Linked DNA regions of Homo sapiens: region 2 is linked to region 1. The links are contacts of gene promoters, found by promoter capture Hi-C in blood cells and fetal thymus (Javierre and others, 2016). All regions are on one chromosome and are shown on one strand. Each heading gives the region's core, a stretch centred on a gene start or on the middle of the fragment in contact. The rest is flanking DNA. Distances are from core to core; before and after follow the strand shown.

Region 1 (3,518 bases), core at 272-2,771:
TCTCAGCTGCTGCTTAGCTCCCCGGATCCAAATGAGATGCTAATCGGGATCAGCCAGTCCCCCAGCAGTTGCCCTTGGGCCTCCAGGAATCCACCTTCCTTCTCCTGCCAACTATCCCACATGGCAAGATCACCTCACAGCATGTGAGACCAGACACAGCAAAATCCTGAGACTGACAGACTCAGGCCGCTGAACTCCAAAAAGAGTCAAAATAACAGTACTGTAAAAATGTTGGGAAACTATCCTTCACTATATAAATAAAGAAATTGGTCAGACGCGGTGGCTCACGCCTGTAATCCCAGTACTTTGGGAGGCCAAGGCGGGTGGATCAGGAGGTCAAGAGATCGAGACCATCCTGACCAACAACTAAAAATACAAAAATTAGCTGGGTGTGGTGGCCCGCACCTGTAGTCCCAGCTACTTGGGAGGCTAAGGCAGGAGAATAGCTTGAACCCGGGAGGCGGAGGTTGCAGTGGGCCGAGATTGCGCCACTGCACTCCAGCTTGGCGACAGAGCAAGACTCCATCTCAGAAATAAATAAATAAATAAATAAATAAATAAATAAATAAATAAATAAATAAATTGAGGTCAAGCTGGCATTAGAACCGAGTCAGGTTGTTCCTGACTCTGGCACCTTTGGTGGCGGGGGGTAGGGGGGAGCGGTTTGGCAACTTCTCTAAACCATCTGGCGGTTGCCCTTAAAACACCCCATAATTTCCGTTTCCTGGAGATCTCAGGAAAGAGGAATTGGACCAGGCAGAATATGAGAAACATAAGGGGACCATGCTATAATATTAGATGTTTAGTCCAATATCCCCATTGTACAGATGGATAAAATGATGCCCAGAGAGGGGAAGCGGATCTATGGTACGAGATTATACAACTCCGAGGTGATGAGGTCTCTAGGGCAACACCCTGCCCCTGTAACCAGATGATGTCTGAGTCCCTCCAAGACTTAGGCTCTAAGGATCTAAACCTATAAGTACCTCCCACCCTCCTAAGATACGAAGTTAGGACAATCTTCCCGCCTCTCCCTTCCTCAAACCCAGATCTCATAATCACCCTTGTTGGACGGACTCTTGCTGTAGCAATGAACCACCAGCGCTGCGGCCAGGGCGCACATGCCCAGTCCGGCCCTGCTGGGGACCCCGTTCCAGCTGTCCTGTCCTGGGAGTGTTTCTTCGGGACCAGGAAGGCGTCCCCAAGTGGCAGCCGCGAGGCATTTGGTATCGAAGCGTCCTCCCTGGCGCCCCCCGGTGGCTGCCCCACGTCCGGAGAACAAGGCCGGCGATGTTCCAGGGCGCCCCCCGGTGGCTACCCTCAGCCACTGCGGCTCCCCGAGACTCCCAGTAGTCACATTCCGGCCGGAAGCACCTCCATGGCCCCGGAGCGTTGGGGACCTGAGCAGCCGGAGGAGTAGCCGTGGCGCCAGTGCTTTTCTCCTCAACACCAGGGACCCCAGCATCTTGACAGCTGCTTCGATAACCCCGTGGTGCCGGCCCCTGTGCTGACCACGTCCAACATGGCTGCCGCGGCGCGTTCGAAGACGCCGCGAACAGGGTGGAGTTGCGCACTACCTCACGGGAGAGGTAGTCCACAGCCCTAAGCCTTTCCCCAGCTGGAGAATAAATAAACTACGTTTCCCAGAAGGCTGTGGGATTGCGTCACAATGACTGCGGGATTATAGAAGCCCGGGGCATATTGGGAAATAGAGTTCGGGTGAAGGGGCGTGGCGATTAGAGTTAAAGATTAGAATCCCAAGACTTCTTTCCTAGTTTAGTTGAAGCACACGACACACTTTTTTTTTTTTTTTTTTTTTGAGACGGAGTCTCGCTCTGTCTCACAGGCCGGAGTGCCGTGGCGCGATCTCGGCTCACTGCAACCTTCGTCTCCTGTGTTCAAGCAATTCTCCTACCTCAGTCTCCCGAGTAGCTGGGATTACAGGCGCCCGCCACCATGCCCAGCTAATTTTTGTATTTTTAGTGGAAACGGGGTTTCACCACGTTGGCCAGGCTGGTCTCTAACTCCTGACCTCAGGCGATCCGCCCGCCTCGGCCTCCCAAAATGCTGGGGTTACAAGCGTGAGCCACCGCGCCCGGCCCACAATTTTTGACTGGTGTAAATTACCCAAGAATCTTCAGCAGAGGCATATTATGAAACTTATGCTTATTTAGTTTAGCCTATCTCTTTTTTCAGCCTGGGCGGCCTTTCAAAAAGATGTTTAGGGTAACTACTGCACCTGAGATAGGAATACATTTTATTTGAAGAGTTGACTTCCGGTCTTTTTTTTTTTTTTTTTTTTGAGACAGAATCTCACTCTGCCGCCCAAACTGGAGTGCAGTGGCGCCATCTCGGCTCACTGCAACCTCCGTCTCCCTGGTCCAAGCGATTCTCCCACCTCAGCCTACCGAGTAGCTGGGATTACAGGCACGCACCACCACGCTTGGCTAATTTTTGTATTTTTAGTAGTAGAGACGGGGTTTCACCATGTTGGCCAGGCTGGTCTCCAACTCCTGACCTCAAGCGACCCACCTGCCTCAGCCTCCCTAAGTACTGGGATTACTGGCGTGAGCCACTGCGCCTGGCCCTGATTGTGTTATTTTTAAAGGGCTTTCAAGTGGGTCATCTCATCTGATCCTCATGGCAGCTGTGTGTGAGAAGCTGGGCAAGAACTGTTATTCCCGTCTACAGTGAAGGGAATTGAGGCTCAAAGGTGAAAAGATTTGCCAGTAAATCACCTGGAGTAAAGTAATGCTCAGGTCTTCTGATTTTGAGCATATAGTTTCCATTAACACCTGCACTCCCATCCCGCCCCCTCTTTTCCAAACTGAACCCATAGGTAGGCAAAGGAGGAAGTTCTTCTTTGTGCCAGTTCTGTTTCTTCCAAGTCTTGTACGTCTGCTCAGACTTCACATGATCAGAGTCTTCCCTGACCATTCTGGTTAAAATAGTAATCCTACGCACCCCATCCTAATTTTCCTTCACAGCATTTATCACCATCTGACATACTACATTTTTATTGTCTTTCTCCACTACAGCATGAGCCCCATGAGACAAGGACTTTGTTTTTTCACTTTTATATCACTAGCACTCAGAACAATGTCTGGAACAAAAGAGGCACTCAGTTTTTTTATTTTTATGTATTTATTTATTTATTGAAGCAGAGTCTTGCTCTGTCGCCCAGGCTGCAGTGCAGTGGCACGATCTCAGCTCACTGCAAGCTCAGCCTCCTGTGTTCACGCCATTCTTCTGCCTCAGCCTCCCGAGTAGCTGGGACTACAGGCTCCCGCCACCATGCTCGGCTAATTTTTTTGTATTTTTAGTAGAGACGGGGTTTCACTGTATTAGTCAGGATGGTCTCGATCTCCTGACCTCGTGATCCACCTGCCTCGGCCTCCTAAAGTGCTGGGATTACAGGTGTGAGCCACCGCGCCCGGCCTGAGGCACTCAAATATTTTTTTCAGTGAATGGATTACTCTCACCTTATTAGTGTTGGAGAGTACTTGAGCTTTGGCATT
Region 2 (3,759 bases), core at 542-3,041, 170 kb before region 1:
GGTGCCCTCATTTCCACCAACATGATGGAATCCTAGGGTTGTGAGGGTGGGGTGGGGTACTTCACTGCCAGGGGCAAGCTGGGTGTGGTTACTCTGATTGCCAGCTGCTCTGAGTGGTCTGACCTGCAGAGATCTTTGCTGGTTGATCATTTTGAGATCACTGAGTCCCTAGGATTAAAGAATGTAAGCAGTTCACTAAGATTCTAACTGATCTGTAAAACCCAAAACCCTCTGGAACTGGTGAAAAGGGGACCCACTTAAGACAATAGGATGGGGAATAATGGAGTTATGATCTCTCACTGAATTTCCTGTCCTGGGTTTGTTCACAGACTTACAGCCCCATGAATGGGGTGAAGGCAAGTTTACTTAAGCAAGATTTAGAAATACCTCCTTATATATTTCTTTCTTTCTTTCTTTCTTTCTTTCTTTCTTTCTTTCTTTCTTTCTTTTTTTTTTTTTTTTTTTTTTTTTACAGAGTCTCACTCTGTCACCCAGGCTGGAGTGCAGTGGCATGATTCTGGCTCACTGCAACCTCCACCTCCCGGGTTCAAGCAATTGTCTTGCCTCGGCCTCCTGAGTAGCTGGGATTACAAGTGCCCACCACCATGCCCGGCTAATTTTTGTGTTTTTAGTAGAGACAGGGCTTCATCATGTTGGCCAGGCTGGTCTAGAAATCCTGACCTCAAGTGATCTGCCCACCTCGGCCTCCCAAAGTGCTGGGATTGCAGGTATGAGCCACAGTGCCCTGCCTCCCTTTGTATTCCTTATAGGGTCCCCCAGAAAGGCCTGTGGTCATTTTCCAGGATAGCTATTGTAGGTTTAATTGTGTCTCCTCCAAAAGATATGTTGAAGTTCTGGTCCCCAGTACCTGTGAAATAGGTGACCTTATTTTGAAATAGTTTATTTGCAATCAGGTTAAGGTGAGGTCATACTGGTTTAGCCCTAATCCAATGATGGTCTCCTTAGAAGAAGCTTTTTTTTCTTTTCTTTTCTTTCTTTTTCTAACCTTATAAAAAAGGAGAAATTTGGACACAGAGGGAACACCATGTGAAGATGGAGAATAAATTTCCGTGGTTTCAGGCTACCTTGTGTATAATATTTTGTTATGGCAGCCCTAGGAAACAGATCCAGTAACTGTGACCTTGGGAGTGTTGGACATTGGCTCTAATGCTAATCTTTGGAGTTGTAGTTGGCACAGTGATTAATGAATCACTCAGAGTGAATGAAGGCTTATGGAGTCAAGTGATAAATTGACTTTTGATTTTTTTTCTGAGACAGGGTCTTGCTATGTTGCCCAGGGTGGAGTGCAGTGGCATGATCATAACCCACTACAGCCTCGAACTCCTGTACTGAAGCCATCCCCTTGTCTCAGCCTCCTGATTAGCTGGAACTACAGGCGTGTGCCACCATGGCTAGCTACCTTTTTTTTTTCTTTTTAAATTTTTGTAAAGACAGGGATCTCACCATGTTGCCTAGGCTGGTCTCGAACTCTGGGCTCAAGTGATCCTCCTGCCTTGGCCTCCCAAAGTGCTAGGATTGCAGGTGTGAGCCACTGTGCCTGGCTGCAACTTTTGATTTCAGTCTACCTTACTATCATCCCAGTTCTTAAACCCATTTTCCCATCATTTCTTTAGTTCCCGAGTGTATAGTTAGACTAGATGCATTCAGCAAATGGCAGAATCCCCATGTTTCTCCAGTCCATGGAATATGTGGTTGAAAGGGTCGAGCAAAAGCACTAAACCTTCCTCCCTATTTAAATTATAAACAAAGAGCAATAATGCCTTGCTGGGGGAAATGCGAGATTAGTGCAACCATCAAAGATCTGAAAATTTAGAGGTGAAAATTCTTGTTACTTATCCATTTAATTTACCTGTTTGGCTCACAAAGAAGTCAGAAGGGCCTTTGAGAATGACGGTGGATGATTGAAAGTTTAAGACAGGTGATGACTCCAGTTGCATTGCTCTTGCAGATGTGGTTTCTCCACTAGAGCAAATCAACAGCGCCTCTCCCACCTGCGATGAAGTTATTAACTTGCAAATGTTTTTTCCCTATTTCAATAAGCAAAGAAGACCAGAGGTAATTTTGTTTATCCTGGCAGGGGCAGAAGTACATTTTCACTATTTTGCTTCAAGAACTATGTCAGCTCTCTGCCTCTGTGCCACAATTTAGTACACAGGGACTTTGATAATCTTAAAGTCCCATAACACGTTACACTGGCGAACTATGATTATGATAAAGTGCTGATAAATCCTAAATAGCAGAAAGTACTCGGTACCCTGAATGCCTTAATGAGTTGTTGTCGTCAGCGTTTTGGATTTAAGCCATTCTAGTAGGTACATAGTGATATCTCATTTATTGTTTTAATTTGCAATTCCCTGATGACATAATGTTGAGCATCTTTCATGTATTTATTTGCTGTCTGCACATATCCTTTGGTGAGGTGTCTGTTCCTATCTTTTGCTAATTTTTAAATCGGGTGATTGTTTCTTTATTGTCAAGTTTGAAAAGTTCTTGTATATTTTGGACACCAGTCCTTTATATGTGTTTTACAAAGATTTTATCCCAGTTCGTGGTTTGTCTTCATTCTCTCAAAAGCATCTTTTGCAGAATAGAAGCTTTTAATTTTAGTAAAGTCTAACATATGTTTCTTCTTTCATGAATTCTGCTTTTGGTGTTGTATTAAAAAAAATCACCGTCTTCATTTATATAGTAGTAAGTAAACTTTAAGAATAGTAAAATAAATAAATAAGTACATAGAAAATCGTCACCAAACCCAAGGTCATCTAGATTTTGTCTTATGTTATCTTCTAGGAGTTTTATAGTTTTGCATTCAATTTTTTTTTTTTTTTTTTGAGACGGAGTCTTGCTTTGTCTCCAGGCTGGGGTGCAGTGGCGTGATCTCAGCTCACTGCAACCTTTGCCTACCAGGTTCAAGCAATTCTGCCTCAGCCATCTGAGTAGCTGGGACTACAGTTGCACACCGCCACACCCAGCTAATTTTTGTATTTTGAGTAGAGATGGGGTTTCATCATATTGGCCAGGGTGGTCTTGATTTCCTGACTTCGTGATCCTCCTGCCTCGGCCTCCCAAAGTGCTGGGATTACAGGCATGAACCACTACGCCCAGCTAATTTTGTATTTTTAGTAGAGACGGGGTTTCTCCATGTTGGTCAGGCTGGTCTCGAACTCCCAACCTCAGGTGATCCGCCCGCCTCGGCCTCCCAAAGTGCTGGGATTACAGGTGTGAGCTACCACGCCCAGTGTCCCATTTTTTAAAATTGTTATTAAAAAAATTTTTTTAATTGTTATTTTAAAAAATTTTTAAATTGTTATTTAAAAAAATTAAAAAAAAATTTTTTTAAATTTTTAATAAAATAGAGATGGGGGTCTCACTATGTTGCCCAGGCTGGTATTAAACTCCTGGGCTCAAGTGATCCTACTGCCTCAGCCTCCCAAATTGTTAGGATTACAGGCGTGTGCCACCATGCCCGGCCCAGAGTCCCATTCTCTTGAATCACTTTTTAATCTCTAGGATGTTGCTGCTCATGCTTTTTTTTTTCTTTTTTTTTTTCTTTTGAGACAAGGTCTCACTCTATCACCCAGGCTGGAGTGCAGTGGCGCGATCTCTGCTCACTACAACCTCCGCCTCCTGGGCTCAAGCAATTCTCCTGCCTCAGCCTCCTGACTAGCTGGGATTACAGGCACACACCACAATGCTCAGCTAATTTTTTTATATTTTTAGTAGAGATGGGGTTTCACC

Evidence for each region. The method cuts DNA at HindIII sites, captures the fragments that hold promoters and counts their contacts. A CHiCAGO score of 5 or more calls a contact.
Region 2: a contact is called between a fragment that was not itself captured here and the fragment with the promoter of CLPB in region 1, in 1 of 17 cell types (M1 macrophages). The highest score is 6.1, in M1 macrophages.

Annotation. Positions count from the first base shown.
Region 1 is chr11:72,433,010-72,436,527 of GRCh38, forward strand. It overlaps CLPB (ClpB family mitochondrial disaggregase), which reads right to left and starts at 1,522. Exons shown (of 16, transcript NM_001258392.3): 1 at 1,063-1,522. The coding sequence starts at 1,465. RefSeq lists enhancers at 1,144-1,603, 1,667-2,473. The HindIII fragment of the contact is 13,854 bases long and covers 1-3,518 here.
Region 2 is chr11:72,258,534-72,262,292 of GRCh38, forward strand. No RefSeq gene overlaps it. Among named protein-coding and RNA genes, the nearest start is that of PHOX2A, 16 kb to the left of the region's middle. The HindIII fragment of the contact is 1,643 bases long and covers 971-2,613 here.